2 separate regions of the Homo sapiens genome follow, and region 2 is linked to region 1. The links are contacts of gene promoters, found by promoter capture Hi-C in human tissues and cell types (Jung and others, 2019). All regions are on one chromosome and are shown on one strand. Each heading gives the region's core, a stretch centred on a gene start or on the middle of the fragment in contact. The rest is flanking DNA. Distances are from core to core; before and after follow the strand shown.

Region 1 (6,156 bases), core at 2,527-5,026:
ACCTGGCTAATTTTTGTATTTTTTGTAGAGCCGGGGTTTCACCATGTTGCCCAGGCTGGTGTCGAACTCCTGAGCTCAAGCTATTCACCAGCCTCGGCCTTCCAAAGTGTTGAGATTACAGGCATGAGCCACTGTGCCTAGCCAACATAGGGTTTTATTAGGGGCGTAGAGGAGAGAGTCTAATGGTGGCGGGCTGGACCACATATCCTCCTTACATACACTCCAGTGGTGGTGTGCTGGATAGGAAAACTGCAGGTGGTTGCAGACAGCATGCAGTTTATACAGCATTTTCACTTAACACCTTCCCCTTAATGACCTCTCTCTGGTAGCCTTCATTTAACCCAAAACTTAGGACCTCAATCCCTGGTATAGTCTGTATTCCACAGGACTGGCTGGGGGCTCAGGTGTTCCTCATAGACAAGGAACCAGTCTTCGGGTTGGCCTTGCCCAGATTCCTTAGCTCGAACACACATGCAGGTGCATCTGCCATACAAGGTCATTCTAAGGGTATGCTTAAGTTATTGCTATTAGGTGCATTTACCCTACACCTAGTGAGCTATCTGTATGCTGGCAAGGCAGTTCAGGTCTACTGATGCTCTTTTCTTTCTTGACTGGAAAGGGAATTCTTGAGGGAGAATAGTTTGCCCAGGACCCTTAGTGGCACTTTTCTTTTGAACCTTCATTACAATTTTAAATTGTCTTATTTGGTCTGTGACAGTGGCCATCTTGTTCTCTATATTCCTGCAGCCTGGTGCAGGACCCGGCACAGAGCAGGCCTCCAGTAAGAATTTCTTCTTGCTCAGGATTCCAAAGCTCCTTTTCCGATAAGGGGATTATTGATCCCTGAGTCTAATGCCGTGAAAAACCAACCTGGAGTCAGATAGACTTGAGCTCTGTCCTTCACTAATTATGTGACTTTGTCAAGTTATTAACCTCTTGGCTGGAAGTTTAGTTTTCTATGTAAAAACGGGGCAATAGGCTGGGCGCGGTGGCTCACACCTGTAATCCCAGCACTTTGGGAGGCTGAGACGGGTGGATCACGAGGTCAGGAGATCAAGACCATCCTGAATAACACAGTGAAACCCTGTCTCTACTAAAAATACCAAAAATTAGCCGGGCCTGGTGGCGGGTGCCTGTAGTCCCAGATAGTTGGGAGGCTGAGGCAGGAGAATGGCATGAACCCGGGAGGCAGAGCTTGCAGTGAGCCGAGATAGTGCCACTGTGCGCCACTGCACTCCAGCCTGGGCGATAGAGCCAGACTCCGTATCGGAAAAAAAAAAGGGCGGGGGGCAATATGGGTAGGTTATAATCCTTTGTCTGCATCCTGAAATTTTTTTTTTTTTTTTTTTTTGAGATGGAGTTTTGCTTTTCTCACCCAGGCTGGAGTGCAATGGTGCAATCTTGGCTTACTGCAACCTCCATCTCCCAGGTTCAAGCAATTCTCTTGCCTCAGCCTCCCAAGTAGCTGCGATTACAGGCGCCCACCACCACCCCTGGCTAATTTTTGTATTTTTAGTAGAGACGGGGTTTCACCATGTTGGCCAGGCTGGTCTCGAACTCCTGATCTCAGGTGAACCACCCACCTTGGCCTCCCAAAGTGCTGGGATTACAGGCATGAGCCACCACGCCTGGTCTTGTTTTTTTTTTTTTTTTTTTTTTGAGACAGAATCCTGATTGGTCACCCAGGCTGGAGCACAATGGCACGATCTCGGCTCACTGCAACCTCTGCCTCCCGGATTCAAGCAATTCTCCTCCCTCGGCCTCCGGGGTAGCTGGGACTACAGGCGTGCACAACAACTGCTAATTTTTGTATTTTTAGGAGAAACGGGGTTTCACTGTGTTGGCCAGGCTGGTCTCAAGTTCCTGACCTCCAGTGATCCACCCTCCTCAGCCTCCCATAAGTGATGGGATTACAGGTGTGAGCCACCGTGCCTGGCCTGTATCCTGAAATTTTAAAAACCTTCTTAAATTATTTGGCAGCAAAAAGTAAACTGATGCATTTTTTGAGCAGCAAAGTCAGCCTTGAACTGATGTGAGTCTATTTATATTTGTCCCACTCCATGTGAATATTCATGTTTCCTTACGGAATATTGTTTTTCTTTAAAAAGTGCTGTATTACATAATATACAGTATGTGCACCATATTACCTTTCTAAAAATCAAAAAATGCTCAATTTTGAAACATATGTGGCCCCCAGGATTTCTAATAATGGATTGAAGATCTATCACTTATGTCCTTCGGGAATGGTGTGAGGATTGAGATAATTTTTTTTTTTTTGAGCTGGATTGCACTGGCGCAATCTCAGCTCACTGCAAACTCCGTCTCCCGGGTTCAAACGATTCTCCCGCCTCAGCCTCCCAAGTAGCTGGGATTACAGACGCACACCATCGTGCCCCGCTAATTTTTGTATTTTTAATAGAGACGGGGTTTCGCCATGTTGCCCAGGCTGGTTTCGAACTCCTGACCTCAGGTGATCCGCCCGCCTCGGTCTCCCAAAGTGTTGGGATTACAGGCGTGAGCCACCGCGCCTGGCCGAGAGAATGCTTTTCAAACGACGGTGGGAGCAAAGGCCAGGCCCAGAATTAAAGAAGATGACAGGGTGGGACAGAGGAAGCAGGTGATATGAGAGCGTGTGCTCTGGCGCAGCCATGAGGCTGAAGTAGACGGTTAGGGGAGCGTCTTTGGTGGCCGCTGAAGTTGATGCTTAATTCCGAGGAAACAACGAGGCGGCCATGGAAAGTAACGAGATACTTGATTCTTAGAAAGATTTGTAGGGGGCCAGGCGCGGTGGCTCACACCTGTAATCCCAGCACTTTGGGAGGCCGAGGCGGGCGGATCACGAGATCAGGAGTTCAAGACCAGCCTGGCCAACATGGTGAAACACCGTCTCCACTAAAAATACAAAAAAAAAAAAAAAAAAAATTAGCCAGGCATGGTGGCGCATTCCTGTAATCCCAGCTACTCGGGAGGCTGAGGCAGGAGAACTGCTTGAACTGGGAACCGGTAGGCGGAGCTTGCAGTGAGCTGAGATCGCGCCACTGCGACAGAGCGAGACTCCGTCTCAAAAAAGAGATTTGTAAGGGACCAGCCTGGAAGCAGGGAATCGGTCAGGATCCGAGTCACCCTGGAGCCTAGGCAGAGATCAGCGAAAGCCCTCGCTGATGCATAGGTCTGGAAGGCGTGGGGCTCCGGGAGGCTGAGCAGCTGGACTCGGCATGACCAGAGGTCGTGAGGCCGTTCCGCAGGCTTGGGACGCTCCTGACCCTCAGAATCAAGCGCGGGCCACTGCATTAGCATGGGAGAAATGGCAGAGATAGGGCTTGAGGGAGGGATGCCCGAGATTAAAGGTATTAAAGGTAAATTGGTGTCGCCGCAAAACCAGCGTGGGAGCCAGGAAACGAGAGTTTCAGTCTTTCTTCGCTAATTCCAGAGATAGCTGCATATCACAGGAGGAGAAGCGACGCAGCCATTTTTCTTCGTTATTATCAAATTTGGCTGCTGCCGGACGCCGTAGATTTGTGGCTCACCCACCCTTAGCCCACCTCTCCGCGGCTTTTCACTAAGTTTGAACCCGACCCCTCGCCGTAGAGTGTGTAATTTCTGTCTCCGAAGCTGACGTCAACTTCTGAACGAAAGCTAGGAGCGGAAGAGCGTGCGTGGAAATGGCGCTCGGTACGTGCCCCCGACCTGTCGTCTGCCGCGGGGGCGCGCTCGCACGCCGGAAGGGGCGGGGCCAGATTTGGCTTTATATAGCGGACCCGTAAGGCCGACCGGCCTCTACCGGCGGGATTTGATGGCGTGATGGTATGTGTTGTAATGGCGGCCGTTTCATTGTCACCGGCGTCGGCACGGCTGAATCCGCGACGCATCGCCGCCATCCCGTCTTGGCCGGCGCCGGGGGTTTGCTTTAGGGGCACGGGCGACCCAGCGGGGACTTCAGTCTGGCCTATTTTCTGGAAAGTCGAGAGGCTTGTGAAGAGCGCTTGGAGGACTGGCTTTGGGCCTGCAGGTCGGCCAGAGAGAGGCCGTAAGGGTGGGAGCAGGCTTGGAGGCCCGGCGTTTTTAAAGCCATGAGTCATTTCTAAGTTTCGACCTCACCAATTCTATCATTAGTTGGGATTAGGGCCCATAACCTGCTTGTCTGGGTAGAAGGACCTTGGGTGGAGGTTCTCGGCGCCGTTCTCATTGGGAGGTAAAGAAGCTTGGGGGAGGGGAGTGTTGTGGAGTCCTCCTGAATATCTGGGGCCGCTGGTGCACTCCGAAGGCCTCTGGAGCTCGCAGAAACCACAGATGATGAACTTATTGACGGGCGGACAGAAACTGTGTGCTGATTGTCACGTTCTGATTTGGCTCTGCGGAGTTCTTTGGCCTGTGTGTATCAGTGTAATTAGTGTCCGGGCACCGGAGGCAGCCTATAGCTTAACATTGCTAGCTGCTACCCAGCGTTTGTCCCGGGAGTCCCTTTCTTTAGCGGTCAAAACCTTGCTAATTGGCATATAAAGCTGCCTGTTAAGCAGTTTTTAGTGCCACTACTTAGTGTATTTTTGTGTGGTTAGATAAAAAAAATGGGTCGTTTTCTTACAGGTTGAGAGGATTTGAAATAAGATTCAGCTTAAATTTTGTCGAATACAAAAGCATTCTTGACACGTGCGAGCCTGGAAGAGATAATGACCTTTTTATTCGGCTTGCTGGGTGTCTGGTCAGGATTCTTCAGTATTGCTGAGATTTGGAACTTAAGCAGCTGGGAACTAGAGAAGGGGGCACTGCTTTGGTTTGGGTGCTGACGGTGATTTTTTTCCCACCTAGTCTCACAGAAAGTTCTCCGCTCCCAGACATGGGTCCCTCGGCTTCCTGCCTCGGAAGCGCAGCAGCAGGCATCGTGGGAAGGTGAAGAGCTTCCCTAAGGATGACCCGTCCAAGCCGGTCCACCTCACAGCCTTCCTGGGATACAAGGCTGGCATGACTCACATCGTGCGGGAAGTCGACAGGCCGGGATCCAGTATGTACAGACATCCTAAAAGTTGGGGGAATAGGAGTGGAGGGGGAGGGAAATTGTAGAGATGGAGTCAAGCTGTTAGCAGAGGGCAGACTTTTTTTTTTAAGCAGGAGTTACACGTTGTCAGAACTGCTGCGACAGCAGAATGGGAATGCTTAACTTGAAAACTAATATTCCAAGGCTACAGATGGTCAGCACTGTTTGCTTTAGGTGCGGTGTGGGGTATTGATTTCAGAGCATAGTAAATTTGCCAGGAACCTTAGCAAAGAGAAGTTAACACTAGTGTGGGGGGTTGGAGCTGCTGAGGCTGGCATAAGAACTGCCTCATTCATGTTTTTTTCACCTGAAAGCTTGAATAATGGCCACTTACCTGTGTGTGTTCTACTTAGAGATGTCTAACAGCACTGGTTGCTGAGCCATGGAGACATTAATGTTAGGCAGTTGATACTGACTAATCTCTGAGCTCAGAGCTATTGTTAGGGCACTGAATTTTCCAGATAAATAGCAATCTTGTCTGCCTCCAGAGGTTTCTGTAGAAGAGAATTGAAGCTGGACAGGTATTTGGCTGTCTAGGGTCCTGATATTTTTTGTTTGAATAACATAAATGTGCTTTGAATGAGAGATAGGCAGTAAGGACAGCCCTGTGAGTCCGTACTGCAGGTGTGGGGCCCAGTTGCCCTTCCGGCCTAAATGGGCACTTTGCATTTTCCTAGAAAACATTACACCCCTTGCTTGGGCTCCTGCCAAGTCTGACTACTGCTTTTTTTTTGCAGAGGTGAACAAGAAGGAGGTGGTGGAGGCTGTGACCATTGTAGAGACACCACCCATGGTGGTTGTGGGCATTGTGGGCTACGTGGAAACCCCTCGAGGCCTCCGGACCTTCAAGACTGTCTTTGCTGAGCACATCAGTGATGAATGCAAGAGGCGTTTCTATAAGAATTGGTAAGGGAGGAGGCCATGCAGTCCCTAGCTTGGGAGCTTGGGAGCTGGAGAGCAGGGAGCAGCGTGTGCATGGTTTCTCAGCTCTGTAGCAGGCAGGGAGCTGCTGTCTTGGGTTTAGTTTGCCTCTCGAACAGAAAAATACCTGGGATCAGACTTGGCCAGCCATCTGGTTTCAGCCGGAAGCTAACACCCTCATTCTGAGTCCAGGCTAGTGGGTG
Region 2 (6,156 bases), core at 3,610-6,109, 340 kb after region 1:
TGGGCAGAGCGGGCAGTGGTCCCTGATCTGGGGCTTCATGTGCAGCCTCCCTGGCAGGCTTGTCTTGGCCCTGATGTTAGTCCTGGGTTTGGATTCTATTTCTATCTTCCAGGGCCCTTGTTCCAGGAGACACCTGCGCTGTGAGTGACCTCCCAGGCCCATCTGAGTGCAAGCCTCACTTTATGCTGCTTTCTCACCTGGATGGGAGGACATCTGGAGGGACCCCTGGATCCTGCCCTCAGGAATCATCCCAGGGACCCCCCCCGTCCCCAGCCACCCAGCAGCTATGTGGTAGTGAGGGAGAGTCAGGGGCAGGTGTCTGCCTTCCCCCATGCCTTCACACTCAGAGGCCACCATTGGAGGGAGGAATAGCGGGTGGGGGTGGCCCTCAGATGTCCCCCCAGGATGCCATGGGTGCCCCCACACTGAGCTCCTTCCTTCCACATCTCCTGCCCAGAGTTGTTCCCTGGAAGGCTGAGCTCTTGCCTCCTCTTGTCCCCATGTCACAGAAGGGCAGCGGCTGGTGTCCCAGGCCACCCTGTCTTGCTGTTTGTTCCTCTAGTCCAAGACCCAGGTGCCTTAGAGGCAGAAGGGGCCTCTTACTCACAGGAAGGGCCCAGGAAAGCAGGGAGGAGGCAGTGTGGAGGGAGCACCAGGAGTTAAGGGAAGGTGGTGTGACCATGAGGGCAGGCAGTGGGTCAAGAGGGAGGGCGGGAGGGCCAGGCCAACGGAGGCCTCAGGAGGATGAGCAGGTGAGAGGAGAGAGATGATGAGGCCAGAGGGAGACCCTCACCTGAGAATCTCCTTTAGCGTGCGGTGCAGGAATGCATAATTTTCATCGAATTTGTACCAAGGCATGAATTGCTGACCTTCATTGTACACAAAGTTTTCCCAGCAGTATGCAAATTCTGAGATGAAGAAGCGGGAAGCAGTCAGGCTCTCCCCTGACCCTGGCCTGTCCTCCCAGGCCTGGTCTCCTGGCTGTCAGTTGCAGTCAGTGCCAGTCCCACCCCTGCAGGCTGCCCTGGGACACCCCCAGCCATGGCATTGCAGATCCATCCATCTTTCATGCTGTTCCTCCCGCTCACGCTCCCCTGACCCCTCCACCTCTCACCTTCATAGTCCATGATCGTCACGCGGGCTCCTGCCTGACTCAGCCTGCAGAGCGCCCTTCGGTAATCTCTTTCCCAGTAGTAGTAGAGGCGGGCGGCAGAGATGGTCAGGGTGACATTGGGGTGCTCAGACAGGAATTCGGCCAGCTTCGCCACACAGTCCGGGCAGGGGGTCCAGGATACAAACCAGGTGATCTGGAAACACTTGTAAGCAGGCAGCTGGTTGCCACAGAACCAAGAGAGGAAGCACATTTCTGCGTGGTACTGAGGCTTGAAATACACCTGGGAGAGGAGCAGGGGGCAGGGGATGCTCTGAGAGGGGGAGCAGGAGGAGTGCAGGGGTGGGGCAGGGAGAGGAGGGGCCAGGACAGGAGCCCAGGGGATCTTGCCATTGAAGCTCCTTTCCTCCATCCCCCCTGTTTAGTTTGAGTGATTGTCTGCTCCAAAGCTCACGTTCAGTGTTAATGGCTATTGTAATGGCCTTAAGAGGTGGCACCTAGAAGAGGCTATGAGGCTGTGGGGACTGCACCTTTGTGGGTGCCACTGCTGTGGTTATTCAAGGGTGACTTCAGCCCCTCTTTCTGTCTCTTGCCCTCTATCTGGAAGGGCAGTGTGTCAGACTAAACTCCTGCTTCCTCTTGTCCCCGTGGCATGGAGCAGCTGTGACTCGACATCCCAGGCCACTCTGTCTGGAGCATCCCCTGAGCTTGTGGCAACAACCTTCACCCTCATGTGACTGTTCAGCTCACAGGCTGAGGCAGGAGAATCACTTGAACCTGGCAGGTGGAAGTTGAGAGTGAGTCATTGCACTCCAGCCCAGGCAACAAAGAGTGAAACTCAGTCTTAAAAAAAAACCAAAACAAAACAAAACAAAAAAACAGAACTGTGGGAAGTGGCCAGGTGCGGTGACTCATGCTTGTAACCCCAGCACTTTGGGAGGCCAAGGCAGGTGACTCACCTGAGGTCAGGAATTCCCCAGCCTGGCCAACATGGTGAAACCCAGTCTCAACTAAAAATAGAAAAAATTAACTGGGCGTGGTGGCAGCCTTCTGTAATCCCAGCTATTCGGGAGGCTAAGGCCGAAGAATCACTTGAACCTGAGAGGTGGAGGTTGTAGTGAGCCAAGATTGTGCAATTGCACTCCAACCTGGGTGCCAGAGCGAGACTCCATCTCGGAAAAAAAAAAAAAAAAAAAAAAGGAAAAAAAGAGAAAAAAGAAATGTGGGAAAAATACACAATTGAGAGCCCAGTGCTGGGCATTTTACTTATTGTTGTGTTTTCTGCATTTCCAGCTGCTTAGGTCCTACTGTAGCAAGGGTTAAAAAGAAAAGAAGAACAAGTTTTCCTCTGCCTAGCCAGCTCACTCCAACGACAGTTATAACACTGCCTGAAAAGTCAAGGCCAAAGGAATGGGCTCCAGACACCACCCCCACACCCCTCCAGGGCAAGGTTGAAGAAAATTTTAAAAAAATTTTTTAAAAAAAAGACAAATTCCTTTACTGTCTCTCCTTTCCAGAACCATTATAACTATATTTTACAAATGTCTGTATTTAGCCAGTTCCTGTTTTCCTTTTGATGTAGCTGCAAGGCCACCAGCTATAGAAGGCCCCAAGTTATGCTAAGTCATCTGTTATGCTATAGATTATGTGACCTGTCACTGTTTGATTAATCGCCTTTGTTCTGCTTCTGTAAGTTTGCTTATAAATACCTCAGTCTGTCTTTGTTAAGGGCTCAGCCTTTTTGGATGTGAGTCTGCTGAACCAGTGCACCTAAATAAATCCTCCTGTCTCACCCATATCAGTCTCTCCAGTCCTCTAATTCCTGCAACACTGCCTGTGATTCGATTGAAGTTTGGGTGGTACCTGGCCTCGAAAGACCCCTGTGTCCCAAAGGAGATTTGAGCGGCCCCTCTTTATTTTCACTTCATAGCACAGCCAAGTGTAGCTCCGACCATAGAGGATGGGTTCGTTTTCAAAGTTGTCGTAGAATGTGTCTCGATACATCCGCTCCATCGGATTTCTGAAGGCACAAGAGAGAAACCGGCCCATGCAGGGAGCCCTCCCGGGAGTCCTCGGGGCTCATGTCCACTGAACACAGCTCCCAGGATGGCCCTGGGCCTCCCCGACCCCTCCACAGCCCTGAGAATTTCTGCTGCCTTCCCAGGCAGGAAGACTGAGGGGAGAGGAAGAGGAGGGGATGCTGGCAGGCGGGCTGGGGTGATCTCTCCCAGCTCGGGTCCAACTCTGGCCTTTCCAGGGGTACATTCCCCACCCTCCTAGTATTTCTGCCAACCCACTCCCCAACCCATTAGGAGAATGCAAAAGAGAATAAAACCCTTCACCCCTAAAAAATAGCTTTTAACCTTTCAGCTCAATTCCTTCCTGATGTTTCACTCTGCGTGTTAACATTATTTTAAAATCATGGTAGAACTGAATTCTGAGGCCCAGGCCACTCTTCTAAGTGCTGAGCGGGTGTGAGCTCACGTGAGGCTACCCTAGGCCTGCAGGGGCCATTCCCATCTTACAGAGGAGATGCCAGAGGCACAGAGAGGCGGGGTAACCTGCCGAGGCCACAGAGCTGGGGACGGATGGAGCAGGGGCCCCTTTCCAGGCCAGCCCTGTCCAGCCTCTGCATCACGGATCCTGTAGGAGAAAGCTGTTGGGGACTGGGCTCTCTTTTCACTAAATTTTAAAATCAGAGCATTTCTCCTCATCATTGCACTTTTTTCCCACATTCTCACATTCCATGTTACTGATCATGTTCTTTCTTTTTTTTTTTGATGAAGTCTCACTCTGTCGCCCAGGCTGGAGTGCAGTGGCATGATCTCAGCTCACTGCAACCTCCACCTCCCAGGTTCAAGCAATTCTCCTGCCTAAACCTCCTGAGTATCTGGGACTAGAGATGCGCCACCATGCCTGGCTAATTTTTGTATGTTTTTTAGTAGAGACGGGGTTTCACCATATGGGCCAGGTTGGTCTCAAACTCCCGACCTCATGATCCGCCCGCCTTGGCCTCCCAAAGTGTTGGGATTACAAGTGTGAGCCACCACGCTCAACCACTGGTCATGTTCTAAAAGATGAAGAGTGACCTTGGAGTGGAACCTGTCTGGGGACATCTGCTCACCATGGAGTCATCCTTGGATGACACGATTTATCATGTGCTTCAGAGACCATTCCTACCCCCGCACCCTCTCCTAAGACTTTGTATTTAAGCAAAGTAATTCTTACAGAAATTTCATCAAAACACTGAGAACAAAAATGCCTGATTGCTCCAATTACCCTTTGGTTCAATTCTCCCAGTTTCTGAGCTCAGGAGTGGCAGGAAGCACACAGAGGGAGCACCCTCCCAGGGCGGGGAGCACCAGTCCGGGCATGACTTTAAGGGAGAGTCTCAGCACGGGGCCTGGGCTGGTGCAGGTAGGGGAGGCAGCCCATTCAGAAGCAGCAGTGGGGTGACCACACAGCAGGACAAAGAGCCTGACTGGGATTCGTGTGGCAGGGGAGCCAGAGGGGAGGGAGCCCAGGGCTGGGGCAGGGGCGGGGGGAGGCCAGGGTTGAGGCCCAGCAGGACCACCAGGCAGGAAGGGGCAGGAGGGGCCCAGCAGGCAGAGTGGGCAGCGGTACCTGATCTGTGGATTCATGTTCAGCCTCTTAGATACGCTTGTCCCTGTCCCGCTCTTTTTTTGAAGCTCTGTGGTTTCACTTCCTGCTTACAGCGTCCTTGCAGTTGGACAGCCCTCCTTAAAGTGACCTCCCAGGGCCTTATGAGTCATGGCCCCTCCCCATTCCTGCTCAGGCATTGGTGTGGGAGGCCCCGGGGTGCTTCATGTTTCTCTGGCTCTGGCTCTGGCTCTGGTTTTCCCCGGACCCTTCCCGCTGGCAGAGGAACCTCCAATAAAGACAGGCTGCTCTGTCTTTATCTGTCCTGGGCAGGACCCAACGGAATTGCAAAGAGAAAGAGAAAGGCATTGCAGCCTGAGCCTGGGAGGCGGGTCCAGACCCAGCTGAGAGAGGGGCAGGTGCCCCGTTGCCTGGTGGTTGGGCAGGCTGGAGCCCCCTCTCCACCACCCCCTCCCCAGCCCTAATGTGTGCCCAGAGCTTTGAGCAGCACCACCCTGTTGAGTGAGGGGAGGTTTTGAGACTCCAGTGGGGAAGGAAGTGTGGACTCCGCACAGCACAAGGGAAGGCTTAGGTGTGCCTCGAGTTCCCAGCTGTGTGCTGGGTCCATGGCATGCGTCCCCTCTTCCAACCTCCCAGCTTCCAGAAGGTGGGGGGCAGGTCAGCCCCTCAGAGGGACTGCGATGTCTGCGACACCAAGGAAGGGAGAAGGGTGTCTATAAACAGGCTCACTGCCCAGGGACCTCTCAAGGGGTTCTTTGTGGGCCAAGAAAACGGGAAACACATACACACACAGCTTTCTGATTATTTAAGTCCATCTAAGCATATTTTGGAGGAATGAATGTACATTGAAATAATCTTCCTAAATAGATTCCTTTAAGGGGAGTTTGTTCCAGCTGGAGAAGTTGTGCTCTCTGTAGAGGCTCTGAACTCCTCTGGCTACGACGACGGGAATGCAGACAGGGAGGAGGATGCGTGGGTGGTAGGGGGAGCAGCAGCGCCCCTACCTGCACAGAAGCTTGTCCAACCTCTGCACAAAGCGGACTCCCAGTGGTTGTTTTTGGAAGGTGAGTTTTCTTTTCTTTCTTTTTTTTTTTTTAAATCTTCCCCAGTATAAATCTTTTAATTTAAAAGTAAATTTTATTGTCGAAAATGCAAACTTGGGGAGGGCAGAAAGATCACACACAGGGCTGTCACTTCACACCTGGGGGGTTGCTGGGAGCCGTCCAGAAGCGCTCCTCACTTCCCAGACGGTGCGGGGGCCGTCCAGAGGCGCTCCTCACTTCCCAGACGGTGCGGGGGCTGGGCAGAGGCGCTCCTTACTTCCCAGACGGTGGGACAGCCAGGCAGAGGCGCTCCTCTGGAAGGTGAAGTTTTCTGTTGCCGTCAGAAAGAGATGGACAAAGGATAAGACCATCGGTGGAAAA

The links. The method cuts DNA at HindIII sites, captures the fragments that hold promoters and counts their contacts. A contact is called where the count stands out against the background at its distance.
Region 2: the fragment with the promoter of APOBEC3B here is called in contact with the fragment with the promoter of RPL3 in region 1 in 7 of the 25 tissues and cell types used here (H1 embryonic stem cells, heart right ventricle, lymphoblastoid cells and 4 more).

The regions. Positions count from the first base shown.
Region 1 is chr22:39,317,243-39,323,398 of GRCh38, reverse strand. RPL3 (ribosomal protein L3) reads left to right here and starts at 3,776. Exons shown (of 10, transcript NM_000967.4): 1 at 3,776-3,804; 2 at 4,807-4,999; 3 at 5,770-5,938. The coding sequence starts at 3,802. SNORD43 (small nucleolar RNA, C/D box 43) reads left to right here and starts at 4,286; the gene lies at 4,286-4,347. RefSeq lists enhancers at 2,119-3,007, 3,172-3,591, 3,008-3,897, 3,982-4,031, 3,898-4,787 and 3 more. The HindIII fragment of the contact is 19,716 bases long and covers 1-4,774 here.
Region 2 is chr22:38,981,050-38,987,205 of GRCh38, reverse strand. APOBEC3B (apolipoprotein B mRNA editing enzyme catalytic subunit 3B) reads right to left here and starts at 4,859. Exons shown (of 8, transcript NM_004900.5): 1 at 4,736-4,859; 2 at 2,975-3,131; 3 at 1,115-1,394; 4 at 794-908. The coding sequence starts at 4,752. RefSeq lists silencers at 516-711, 4,676-4,725 and enhancers at 1,946-2,235, 1,278-2,477. The HindIII fragment of the contact is 18,696 bases long and covers 1-6,156 here.